2 separate regions of the Homo sapiens genome follow, and region 2 is linked to region 1. Evidence: promoter capture Hi-C in human tissues and cell types (Jung and others, 2019). All regions are on one chromosome and are shown on one strand. The core of a region is centred on a gene start or on the middle of the fragment in contact, and the rest is flanking DNA. Distances in the headings are between cores, read along the strand shown.

The links. Contacts are between HindIII fragments. The study calls those that stand out against the background at their distance.
Region 2: a fragment that was not itself captured here is called in contact with the fragment with the promoter of HCRTR2 in region 1 in 2 of the 25 tissues and cell types used here (stomach and thymus).

The regions. Positions count from the first base shown.
Region 1 is chr6:55,170,485-55,177,704 of GRCh38, reverse strand. It overlaps HCRTR2 (hypocretin receptor 2), which reads right to left and starts at 3,190. Exons shown (of 7, transcript NM_001384272.1): 1 at 2,895-3,190. The coding sequence starts at 3,117. The HindIII fragment of the contact is 12,053 bases long and covers 1-7,220 here.
Region 2 is chr6:54,879,187-54,886,406 of GRCh38, reverse strand. The region is part of intron 2 of FAM83B (family with sequence similarity 83 member B); the gene reads right to left. Among named protein-coding and RNA genes, the nearest start is that of FAM83B, 36 kb to the right of the region's middle. The HindIII fragment of the contact is 8,757 bases long and covers 1-7,220 here.

The DNA.
Region 1 (7,220 bases), core at 1,941-4,440:
CACTTCATGAAAGGACATTGTGGAGAAGATGACTTCTAACTGATGGCATTATATTTGTAAGCCCAAAAAGGTTGAGATTTTCCAAGCAGTTATATGAAAGTACAAATGGTGACTGGACCTGAAGGCTCAGTGATTACATCTGCTGCCTACACTGTGGTATTTTACCTTCATACTTAATATTGCATCTTTATTTTGCATAAATCATGTGACATCCTGTCCTACCACTCTATGTGCAAAATTACTTATACCAGAGGGGCAAAGAAGCAATTCTCAATCTAATTCATTTTGCAAATTTGACAGTGACATCAAAGAGCAGGAAGTTGTCTGTGAGTAACGACACTACTCGTTTGTTTAAATGTCAAACCTAAACCTCATCAACTTTCAGGCAGTATGTCAGAAAAGAATGCATTTCAGTTCAACCAGAGAGGATTTCAGTGTTATTCAGTCCTGAGGAAAATAGCTGTCAGTTTCTTTAAGGCAGAGTGCTTTGAGTAAATCTTTCTTTTTAGGCTGAATGGAATTGGCCATTTCAGCACTTGGGGCTGTGGACAGTGCTATCTTCCTTGACATTATGAAACAAGTAGCCTTACTGTAGAGGTGTTTCCTTCTTGAAACTAAAACTCCCCAGGCTAGCAAACATGTATCCCTAAACTATGCAATTAGGATATGGAGACTATTCACTACAAGGTCTATGCAAGGTAAAAATGCAATAACAACAAAGAAGAGCACATTTTACCACAAAGATTCAGCCGAAAATTAAAATAAGGAAGGCAAATAGTTACTATTGATAGCTATTCATAAAAAAATTACTGCTTCTCTGGAAAGGTTTTTGGTGAAGAGAATGACAGTGCCATTAATCCCTCATTGTACTTTATTGGCAGTGGGCGTTGATGCAGAGGAGAACAGGAACACATCTAATAAACTTGCAGACAATCAGGAGCAGAGAATCTATTCTCTATATGCTTTTTAGCTCTAGAGTGGAATAACAATGGAGAATTCTGGATCTGAGGTCAGAAAAAATGGAACTGAATTTAAATTATGTCCCTTAATACGTCATTTTATTTCTCTAAGTCTTGTTTCTTCTTCTGGCTAATGTGGGTTATTTTGATATTTAAGGGAGAGAATGTACATGAAGGGCTCTGGCACACAGTAGGTACTCAATATATGTTCAATTTTGATTATTCACTTATCAATAAGTGTTGGCATAATGCAGTAAAATGTTGCTATGCTGGTAGCCATGTGTCTTAAGAGATGTAATCCTAAGGATGGGTAACAAGAAGAAGGAAAGCAAGATTAGGATTATTATCAACAGAATTATGCTTATAACAAGAATCCTAATCTTGTGTATTTCCACTTTTGTTTCATTTTGTTAGTATCCCAAAAAGATTTCCTTTATTTTTACTTTTAAATCAACCAAAGGAAAACAGTCTAAAAATAATATTTAAAAATGTACTAAAGTTCTCAGAGGTTTCTTGTCTCCTCAAATAACATTCTACCAACACTCTGGAGAACTCCTGTCATTCACATACTATCATCTATTCTGCCTGCTGAGTTGGTGAGAGACTACTCGGGATGATTTCTACCCAGACCAACACACTTGGGAGAGAAGGCAAAAATCAGGTTAGTCTGAAAGCCTGATAATTTCCTTGTCAGTCCCCATTGCAGCTACAAGTTCTTTGCTTTTGACTGCAAAGCCTCCCAGCCTATCTCACCTCACTCACCTTCTTCTTCTTTTATAAATGAAAATCAAGAGCAACTCCTAGCCTCCTCCATCTCCTGTCATTTTCAGCAGAGACTTCCTCCACACTGCCCTCTGCATGTGAAAAGTCTCCCAGCCTTCTACTCTTCATTCATCAAGGTACACTCTCCTTCCATTCACAATTTATTTCAAGTTATCCCTCCCTTCCAAAGCCCCTTTTCTGGAGGTATATTCCCCAACTGCCCTAATACATTCCATCATCGCACTCACCATGTTGCCATCTCACCCCCTCCCCAACCCTCAGAAATTGTTTAGGGGGAGGGGGATGAGGGGTCGAGGAAACCCGTGTTTGCATACAGACCTAGACCGGGACAAATAGCCTAGCATTAAGCTTAGTCTCATCTTTGGAGAAAACAAAACAAAACAAAACAACAACAAACAGTTGACATGAATAATTCCTGAGCCTGGCAACAAGCAGACTGAAAAAAAAAAATATTTGGCTGAATGGATGTAAGAATGAATGGATGGATGGATGATTGAGATCTCTGTGGTACTTTTCTCCGATGCCCCTCCTTCTTGCTCCAGGCATGGATCCTGTTTAATTCAGCTTCTATGAGTGAGTGCACTTCCCTGCTTTGCCTCCGTCTCCACTCCCTGCTGGTTCATTACCACCTCTTGACTGGAGACTAAACCTCCTCGCCAAAGGGCAATGCCACCTAGCTCACAAATGCTTTGTGACTTCCACAGCCACAGAGAGCTTGCTCCTTAGGGATGTAGCTTTGTATTCTGCAAGCTCTGTCTCGTCCCAACCCCCCTGAAACACCCAGCCACGTTACACAAAGGGATGACTGACTCCCCCACCTACCCACCCACACACACACACACTCAACAAAATCCACCTGGAGATCCCTGCCGCGGCCCCTCTCCCTGCGCTTGTAATCTAGGTGCTCGAAAAAGAAACGCGGTTTCCCCGTTATTCCTGCAAAACAGGGAATAACCTTTCCAGGGCTCGGTCCCGGTTCGGAAAATCAGAAAACTTTCTATTATTATTATTATTTTATTAGAAAACCCCATCCGAGAGCAGCGACCTCTTTGTTTGCTTCCCGGGGGAGGGAGGGGTCTCTTTAGAGCCTTCTCAGCCCGGGGCGGAGAGGGGGTGATAGCCCCTAGGAGGGCTGCCCGGGAGGAGACTCACCCAGGACGTTCCCAATGAGAGCCACGACGAACACGATGATGTACCCGGCGATCAGGACCCACTCATATTCTTTCGGGTGCAGGTATTCCCTCCACAGGTACCGCAGGAATTCCTCGTCGTCATAGTCGGTGGGGTTTAAAAAGGGCTCTTGAGTTTCATTCAGCTCCGAAGCAGATGACCAGTTGCGACAAGGGGGGGAGTCCTCCAATTTGGTGCCGGACATCACGGGCTCAAGTCCGGTTCCGCTCAATGCTGCAAGCTCCTCTCCGCCTGCCCCATGAGCACTGGTGATTTGCGGTGGGAAAGGCTGCGCGGAGAGGCTAGAAGGGGCTCCCGAGCAGAAAATGACGTGAAAAGTTACTGAGCCAATGCCTCCGGAGTCTTCTGCCGGGCAACTTCTGCGGTGGCTTTGCTGTCTTTACAGGCGATGTTGCACCGGGAAGATAGGCAGCTGAGGAACTAGGGACCCGGCACTGGAGGCTGCAGCAATGACACCAGGAGGAGAAAGCTACGTCCGGCTCAGCTGAAGCTCAATTACTCCTCATTCCAGCACTCAGTCCGCAGCCCACAGCCTCCTCCCTCGCTGAGGGAGAGCTGAAGCTGAAGAAAAAAAAAAAAGTAATGAAAACTAATTTAATCTGTTTTTTTGGGGGGTGGGGGGTGAGAGTTAAATCTCTCTCTTTTTCTACTTATTTTCTCTATTTTTACGTGCACTTATTATAAACCATGCACAGACATGCATCAGTCTGTGGATATGACAAAAATGTCAACATACAATTAATACAGAGCATGTTGATACATTTGTCTTTGTAAAGCAAATATAAAAGCAATAAGGAGGTGCCTCTGTGTTTCTCAAGCAGGACAATGGAAAAGTCATTCCAGGCAAACACTTTAACATTTAATATAAACTTATTTTAACATTTGACATTTGCCAACTTAGTACTTGCCGAGTCTTTAAGACATCTCCGTCTTCACTTTCTCCTTAAAATTTGAGAATGAGACTGTTTTTAAACTGAAGGGTCTATTTAGCTGGAATTTGTATTTGCGATAGTTAAGTGTCATGTGAAATAGAGCTACAAATTCTTGAAGGACGCCAAGTGTCATAAATATGATCATAGTTAATGTTGTCAAGCATGACAGACCACCAATATACTCAATGATATTAAACATTCACTGTAGGATGTAGCAATCTAAGCAGAAGTGCTCTCTCTGGTAAATACCACATCCCATTGGGTCTTTCTTCCCATTGATTCAGGGCTGATGTCACCTGCCATTCTCTCATGCACTGGTTTTGTCTCTAATAATAAGTATTCTAGCATTTGTCAGAATGTGAATTCATGATCCTTTTATTCTTAATAAACATGGTAAAAATATTGCATTTAAGTAATTACAATCTTGCACTTGGGAAGAGCCTGGAAATCTTGTCTGAACTTCAGCTTCAGAGTAGAAGCCTCCTGATAACATTGCTGACATGTCCCCATCTAGCTTGAATGTGACCACCACAATTCACTACTTCCATCCTTATGGGAGTGCTCTAAGGGTGAGAAAACTGTTTCTTACATTAAACCAAGGTCTCAAGCCACGATTTGTCTTTTTGAGACTTTTACCTCTAATTCCTAGTTTGCATCTTGGTGCTACACAGAATAAATCTTCCACATGACAATGCTTCACAGATTCAAAATAAACATCACAGCCCCAGCGCTCCTTTATATGCCCTCATGTTTCTTTTTTAGTATTTTTCTTTTCAATGTTGTTCAAATGACAGTAGCTCCCACCTACATCTGTTTGGTCTTCCTTTAGACAATTGTCAATATCTTGCAAAATATGTAACTGGGAGGAAGTAACAATAATATGGTTTGAGTCTTGCCAGTGCAAAAAGTACATTATTCTTTGGATGCAACCAGTTTTTATATGTAATTATTTTTTCAACACACACAAGACATTGGTGGTTTACACTGAGATTTAGTTAACTACCCCACCCCCTCCTCCAATCATAATTTTTCATATTTGTTTTGTGCTTTATGGTTTATAAAATTATTTCATATGCATTTTTAAACCCCTGAGGGCTTAGCTATTACTAACCCCCTTTAATAGATGAGGAAGCTGTTCCTGGGGAAATTAGATGATTTACGAAAGATAAATGGATTAATCAGCAGCAAAACCATCTGTTCTTTCTTCTATTTATAGAATACTTTTTGGGACATAGTACTTCTGTTATTGTATAGATATCACATTTTATGAGAAATATTGTTGTATTTCCCCAATCTGCACTAATTAAATTTCTTTTTAAGAGAAGGGCATCAATGGGCATTTTATTATTTTACCAAATATTTCCTGAGGGTTATTTTTCCACTCTTAGTGATACAAAGTTAAACAGGTTGCTGTTTCCATGCATTTTACTTTCTAGTAAAGTTAGATTAAAAAAAAACAAACTAACAAATACATAGGGAAAACGTTAGGAAGGGATAGATGCTATAATGCAAACCAAACAGGATGAGGTGATGATGAGTAGAAAATCCCAAAGGTCACATTAGAAATGATTGTTCAAAAAGGCTCTATTAAGAGATGATATATAAGCAAAAGACCCAATTGATATGTGCATATATTAATTTCATTCTGTTAATTTGAAGTTTAAACAGACCTTAAATTCTAATGCTATTATCCAAAACATTAGCCATTTCTCCAGACCTGTTGTCACCAGTAAATTTGACAAGTAGGCCTTCTGTGGCTTTGTTCAAGTTCATCGGCATAAATCTGTCAACTTTATACTCTGGCACGATGTCTTCCTCTGATTTATTAACATCTGCATTTTACTCTTCCATGCACTATTCATCTCAAAGTGGGAAAGGTTGTTGCAACTTAAGTTCGGATCTATATTCATTAACATCTGCAAATTCCTTGTCATTGACAATCTATAAATATGGACCCAGTCTGCTATTTCCTAAGTAGTCAGTGTCATTAGCTTTCATTTTGTGGCACTTCAACTTGTCTATACTTCAGTCTTCTCTTCGTAAATCTTCCACCTACAATTAATCATCACAGTAAATTGAAGTTATAAATAACGAGAAATGAAAATATTTTCAAGATTTTATCCTGATACCTGCTTTATTTTATGACAAGCTGTATTTATCTTGATCCTACAAATATTCCATTTCCTTCTATCTATGATTTCTCTGGTGCTTTCTTCTAAATATGTGGTACTCCAATGTCATAAAATATTCACTTAAATCTTCAGATTATTACTTGTTTTCTTTTTTGCAAGTGCACCATAGATAATAAATATTATAATACTCATTTTTGATGTGAATATCTTCCTTAGATCTTTTGATATCTTTTGAAACATAAGAAAGGAATTTCTAGTTCTTAGGTATTACTCTTCTCTTCAATTCAAATATTTCTGCTGGATGTAGGGAAAAGGAATCAATCCATTTTACAAACACAAAAGAAAGCTCTAAATTTGTACCATGATATCCCCTTAAGGTTGTTAAAAGAATTAAATGAATTGATATTTTCAGACCAGTGCCTCACTCCAGTTAGAATGGCGATCATTAAAAAGTCAGGAAACAACAGGTGCTGGAGAGGATGTGGAGAAATAGGAACACTTTTGCACTGTTGGTGGGAGTGTAAACTAGTTCAATCATTGTGGAAGAGAGTGTGGCAATTCCTCAAGGATCTAGAACTAGAAATACCATTTGACCCAGCCATCCCATTACTGGGTATATACACAAAGGATTATAAATCATGCTGCTATAAAGACACATGCACACATATGTTTATTGCGGCACTATTCACAATAGCAAAGACTTGGAACCAACCCAAATGTCCAACAATGATAGACTGGATTAAGAAAATATGGCACATATACACCATGGAATACTATGCAGCCAAAAAAAGGATGAGTTCATGTCCTTTGCAGAGACATGGATGAAGCTGGAAACCATGATTCTCAGCAAACTATCGCAAGGACAAAAAACCAAACACCGTATGTTCTCACTCATAGGTGGGAATTAAACAATGAGAACACCTGGACACAGGAAGGGGAACATCACACACTGGAACCTGTCGTGGGGTGGGGGAGGGGGGAGGGATAGCATTAGGAGATATACCTAATGTAAATGAGGAGTTAATGGGTGCAGCACACCAACATGGCGCATGCATACATATGTAACAAACCTGCACGTTGTGCACATGTACCCTAGAACTTAAAGTATAATAAAAATAAATAAATAAATAAATAAGTAAACATGTGATATCCTACTGCAAATATTATTTGCTATACATATCAATTACTCTGTGTTAATGATAGTTAACATCAATGTACATTTC
Region 2 (7,220 bases), core at 2,865-5,364, 290 kb after region 1:
TTAAGCACAAATAACTTAATTGGCAAATCTTTCCTAATATTCAAGGTTGAAATCTTATACAAACTCTTCCAGAGAACTGGGAAAACAAAAAAACAAAAAAAAATCATTATGTGGGCAGCATAACCTTGATACTAAAAACTGACGACTACAATTATAAAAAATGAAAACTACAAGCCAGTATTTCTTCTGAACATAAACACAAAATTCATAAATAAAATACCAGCAAATATAATCTAGCTTTATATAAATAAAATATCACAACTAATTCAAATGAATTCCAGGATTGCATTGGTGATATCTTTCTAGAAAAATCAATTTATGTAGCTTAAGATATTACCAGAATAAAGGAGAAAAATCATATGACATGATAAAATGATAAAAACTCTTTAAGAATAGAACTTCCTATATATGACAGTTACTTATTATTATTATTATTATTATTATACTTTAAGTTTTAGGGTACATGTGCACAACGTGCGGGTTTGTTACATATGTATACATGTGCCATGCTGGTGTGCTGCACCCATTAACTCGTCATTTAGCATTAGATATATCTCCTAATGCTATCCCTCCCCCCTCCCCCTGTCCCACAACAGTCCCCGGTGTGTGATGTTCCCCTTCCTGTGTCCATGTGTTCTCATTCTTCAGTTCCCACCTATGAGTGAGAACGTGCGGTGTTTGGTTTTTAGTCCTTGCGATAGTTTGCTGAGAATGATGGTTTTGTATAGCAAGTATTGTTTACATTTAACATTATGTTAAACATTGCAATGGAACACGTACCCAAGGTATTACGGCAGTCAAAAGATTTGAAAGTTATATGGGTTGGAAAAGAGAAAAATAAAACTACCATTATTTACAGATAATATATCTAGAAAATCCAAAATAATCTATATAAAAACTATTGGAATTAATAAGGGTATCAATCCAGTCACTGGACCCAATCAATGTCAATATACAAAAAATATATTTCCATATTAGTAAAAAAGAAAAAATTAAGACAAAAAATTAAAATATTTCCAACAGGATCAAAAATAACAAATAATTAGGAATAAATCAAACAAATGATATGTGAGGCCTATACACAGAAAACAACAAAATTGTACAGAACAAAATTAAACATAACTTAATAGAGGAATATACCTTGTTCCTGGATTAGAAGACTCAATATTGTAAGGTTCAACTCTACTCACACTGTTCTATAAATGCAGTGAAATCCCAATCAAAATCCCAACATTATTTTTTTTTTGGAAAGTTGACAAGATGATTCTAAAATTCCTACAGAAAAGCAAAAGATTTAGAGTAGCCAAGGCAATACTGAAAAAAGTATTGTTACTGGGCCGGGCGCAGTGGCTCACGCCTGTAATCCCAGCACTTTGGGAGGCCGAGGCGGGCAGATCACGAGGTCAGGAGATCAAGACCATCCTGGCTAACACAGTGAAACCCCGTCTCTACTAAAAATACAAAAAATTAGCCGGGCGTGGTGGCGGGCGCCTGTAGTCCCAGCTACTCGAGAGGCTGAGGCAGGAGAATGGCGTGAACCCGGGAGGCGGAGCTTGCAGTGAGCCCAGATCTCACCACTGCACTCCAGCATGGGCGACAGAGCTAGACTCCGTTTCAAAAAAAAAAAAAAATACTGGAGGACTCACTAGCAAATGGAGAGGCTTACAGTAATAACCAAGACACTGTGGTTTTGGCACAGCAATGATAAGTAAATCAATGGAATTAGAATAGAGTCCAGAAATATACCCATATGTAAGTGGTCACTTGAGTTATGACACAGCAGTAACTGCATATTCATATGGAAATCAAAATGGACCCTGGCCTCACATCATATGAAAGACAAAATAAAACATCTAGAGGTCAATTAAGGATAACATCTTCTTGATATTGGGGAAGGCAAATATTTCTTTTTTTTTTTTTTTTTTGAGACAGAGTCTCACTCTGTTGCACAGGCTGGAGTGCAATGGCGCAGTCTCGGCTCACTACAACCTCCGCCCCCCAGGTTCAAGCAATTCTCATGACTCAGCCTCCCAAGTAGCTGGGATCATAGGCATGCGCCACACACCCAGCTCATTTTCTATTTTTCTCTTTTTTTTTTTTTTTTTTTAGACGGGGTCTTGCTCTGTCACCAGGCTGGAGTGCAGTGGCGCGATCTCAGCTCACTGCAACCTCCGCCTCCTAGATTCAAGCGAGTCTCCTGCCTCAGCCTCCAGCATAGCTGGGACTGCAGGCGCACACCACCATGCCCAACTAATTTTTGTATTTTTTGTACAGACGGAGTTTCACCATGTTGGCCAGGATGTTCTCGATCTCTTGACCTCGTGATCCGCCCACCTTGGCCTCCCACAGTGCTGGGATTAAAGGCGTGAGTCACCATGCCTGGTCTTCTTTGCATTTTTAGTAGAGACAGGGTTTCCCTATATTGGCCAGGCTGGTCATGAACTCCTGGCCTCAAGTGATCTGCCCGCCTCGGCCTCCCAAAGTCCTGGGATTACAGGCATGAGCCACTGCACTCAGCTGCAAGTATTTCTTTGATAGAACACAAAAATAGCTAACCTTAAAATAAAAGATTAAAAAATTGGGCTACACTGAGATTAAGAATTTCTATAAATTAAGAACTCCTGTTAATCCAAAAAAAAAAACCATTATCAGAGTGAACAACTAAGCTATAGAAAATATTTGCAACATGTGTCTGACAAATAATTCATACACAGCATAAAAAATTATTTCAAATAAATTTAAAAAGAAAAATAACCTAGTTTTAAACAATCGGCCAGGTGCGGTGGCTCACGCCTGTAATCCCAGCACTTTGGGAGGCCAAGGAGGGCAGATCACCTGAGGTTGAGAGTTCGAGACCAGCCTGACCAACATGGAGAACCCCCGTCTCTACTAAAAATACAAAAAATTAGCCAGGCATGGTGGTACATGCCTGTAATCCCAGCTACTCGGGAGGTTGAGGCAGGAGAATCACTTGAACCTGGGAGGCGGAGGTTGCGTTGAGCCAAGATTGCCCCATTGCACTCCAGCCTGGGCAACAAGAGTGAAACTCCATCTCAAAAAAAAAAAAAAAAAAACTTAAAAAAAAATCACTAAAAAATCATGGGTCCTATGAGAAAATGAAGAATATATCTCATCTTAAAGAACAGGTATAAAATGACAATAATGGCTAGGCATGGTGGCTCACGCCTGTAATCCCAGCACTTTGGGAGGCCAAGGTGGGCGGATCACAAGGTCAGGAGATAGAGACCATCCTGGCTAACACGGTGAAACCAGTCTCTACTAAAAATACAAAAACAAAAAAATTAGCCGGGCGTGGTGGTGGGTGCCTGTAGTCCCAGCTACTCAGGAGGCTGAGGCAGGAGAAGCTCCCGGGAGGCGGAGCTTGCAGTGAGCTGAGATCGCGCCACTGCACTCCGGCCTGGGTGACAGAGCGAGACTCCATCTCAAAATAAATAAATAAATAATAAAAAAATAAAGTGACAATAATATAGAGGATGACTAACTGAAGTCTGGTAAGGGAATCAAACAAAGCTTTCCCAAACAAGTATAATTTAACATGGATTTTAAAAGATGAATTGGAGGCAAAAAGTTGGGAAAGAATGCTCCAAGTAGGTAAATAATCATGAACAAAAGCAGGAAGGAATACTTCTGCAGTGGAAGGCCCAGAACAGGTCCAGTAGCCCTGGAGTGGAAGTAATTGAGGGAGGCAGGAGATAAAGCACAAAGCCTCATCATATACTCCATGCTTATGAGTTGGAGTCCATGTGGCAGATAACCAGGAATCAAATGCAATAATACTGGAACAAAAGCATGGTTGTGAATGTTCAGCTGGTTTGCATGGAGCCTGCCTGGAGTGGTCTATCAGAGGTAATACACCATAATGGTAAGCCCAAGCAGGGTCTGTCTGAGCCCATGACCCAGGCTCAAATACCAGACCTGTCATTTTCTACTTCTGAAGCCTAGAAAAAATTATTTTTTTATTCCTCACCTCTAAAAAAAGGGCAATAAAGGTATCTACGTTAGAGAACTGTTGTGAAGATAAATGTGTTAATACATCAGTATATATAAAATGCTTCAAACACTGCCTGGCACATAGCATTAAACATTAGCTGTTACTGGTGTCATTAACAAATGTATTTCTCCTACCCACTAGAGAAGCAACATGATACAATAATCATAGAATAGAAGTCCAGATGCACTATGCACAATAGCAAAGACTTGGAACCAACCCAAATGTCCAACAGTGATAGACTGGATTAAGAAAATGTGGCACATATACACCATGGAATACTATGCAGCCATAAAAAAGGATGAGTTCATGTCCTTTGCAGGGACATGGATGAAGCTGGAAACCATCATTCTCAGCAAACTATCACAAGGACAGAAAACCAGACACCGCATGTTCTCACTCATAGGTGGGAATTGAACAATGAGAACACAGGGACACAGGGTGGGGAACATCACACACTGGGGCCTGCCGTGCGGCAGGGGGAAGGGGGAGGGATAGCATTAGGAGATATGCCTAATGTAAATGACCAGTTAACGGGTGCAGCACACCAACATGGCACATGTATACATATGTAACAAACCTGCACGTTGTGCACAAGTCCCTAGAACTTAAAGTAAAATAATAAAAATAAATAAATAAAAAAGAATAGAAGCCCAGATGCCTGAGTGCTGTCAGTCCTTATGGTCACCAAATGGGTGACTTTGGACTTTCTCAATTTCTCATTGCCCAATTGTAAAAAGACTACATGATCACAAACCTCAGATTTTATTTTTTTTTCAGTAACTGCTCCAGAATTCAGCAGGTTGAAATATGACTACTATGACTCAGTTTTTTTTATGATTATAGATTTTTTTCAGCAGCGTATATTGGATTGATATTTAGCCAAATGACAATGTTTTCCCTTTCATGTTTATTTATTGCCTGTGTTTGAGTTCAAGGAAGAAAAAAATTCAAAATGTGATTATTAATATGAAATTAATACAGCCCAAAGGAAAGTTCTCATTTTCAAAAGAAAATGTACAGTTACCAATTTTTCTTACTGATGATTACACAGAAACAGTTATGAGGCTTTCTTCATTTCTGAAGGAATATTACCATGAGACTCTCACCATATCAGCACTGGTATGCTAAGAGGTAGAGGGATGAGTAAGAAATGGGTGGAGGTGGCAGTAATGAAGGAGTATATTATCACTAATATTATTTACAATTGTCAGCACATGCTCTCAAAAGCAGACTGCCATCTAGTCAATCTTAGTGTTTTTAAATTCTGTGGGAGACACAGCAGCTCCCACTGTCCCCTATTTTGTTATGCCATTGCATTTCAGTACAAGAAACCAATTATTTTATTGTAAGAAAAATCCTAAGTGAAAAAAGACAGGAGGCAACTTTAAAAATATTATACAACATATGATCTCAAATATAACACATCTGAATCTTCTATTTCAGGGATTTATATAAGATATCAAAACACATACACATTCACTTGTGTATACATGTATGTCTCTATTTATTTAATAGGTAAGAAAATTTCTAACATCAATAGCAGTGATTATCTCTACTGGGAGATTATGATTGCCTTTTCTTAACCCTTTCTTGAATTTTTCCATATTGACTATAAGGAATGTATGTACCCTAATAATAAAAAATAAACCTTCGACTGGGCGCAGTGGCTCACACCTTTAATCCCAGCACCTGGGGAGGCCGAGGCGGACAGATCACGAGGTCAGGAGTTTGAGATCAGCCTGACCAACATGGTGAAACCCTGTCTCTATTAAAAATACAAAAATTAGCAAGGCATGGTGGCGCACACCTGTAATCCCAGCTACTCAGGAGGCTGAGGCAGGAGAATCACTTGAACCTGAGAGGCAGAGGTGGCAGTGAGCCGAGATCATGCCACTGCACTCCAGGCTGGGCAACAAAGCGAGACTCCGTCTCAAAAAAAAAAAAAAAAAAAAAGAAACCTTCTATATATACATTTGTCGCACTAGTAAAACATATTTGCTAATAAATATTTTGGAGGTATTTTATCTGTATCATATTTTTGCTACTTTAAAATTTCAATAATTGTCTCTATAATCCTGATACTTAAAGAGTAAACAGGTGGAAAAAAATCCAGATCCCATATAACACAGAGATCATTCGGGTGATGCCCATAAGCACACATGATTTTACCTATATATTTCCTATGAATCTTTTACCATATCCCTCAAATATTAGACTTTAAATCACTTGAAGTGGGCTTTTCCCCCCATCTGTATGAATTAGCAGAGTGCCTTGCACATAGCTGGGACTCAATAAGCATAGGTAGACTTAAACTATATGTAGATTGTTAAAACTTTTTTTGTACAGAAATAAATTTTATTAGCTTAAAATCAGATGATTAAGACATCTTAAAAATAGCTTTAAAACAAAAAAGGACTTTCCTTAAGATTCAGAATTAAGTAGTTACATTTACATTCTATTCTAGTAGGAAATTGAAGATATATTTTCCCCTTGAAAAGACATTTTGTTTGCTATTGGACGTCAGCTTCAGCCTATTGTCAGCTTGTTGCTGACCATTATCCCAACGCCTGTTACAACCTGTCTTACATTCTTCTGTATGTGTTAACTAACCAAAACACAATATTATTATGTCCAAAATCAGATTTCACAACATCACTGTCACTAAAAAACATCTCATGACTTCCCACTATTCTCTTCCACAAGGTTTGATCAAAGGACCTTCACAATTTGGCCGTAATCAACCTCTCTCAACAACTCTGCTTTCCTTTTTTTCCACCCTACTCTACTTCTCTCACGCTCCCCCGCTGTCTGAAAATGCCCAGCTCTCCACCATACATCTCCTACTTATCAAAACTATCCATCTAAATGGCCTGTTAAAAAAAGGGACCTCCTACGTGACCCCTTCCCAGTTTCTCCTTCTTCCACTCACCTGACCCAGCATAAAGGAATTGCGAAATAATTGCCTGTAAAAGTTTGTTTGAAAAGACTAAGTGTTGGGAGGTTCTGCTTCTCAGCAGGGTAGATAATCTCCTGTTTTATTAGGTCCTGGGACAGCATCTAATCCGTCATGTTCTTATCTCATATTCTGTATTTACCCACTCCTTTGCATCTGAATCTTATCCAAGTTACTTACAACTAGGTCCTCAGGGTCAGGACTGTTCTCCAAGTCAGTCTATTTGGGTTCCAATGTGAACCCTCATCTAGAGAT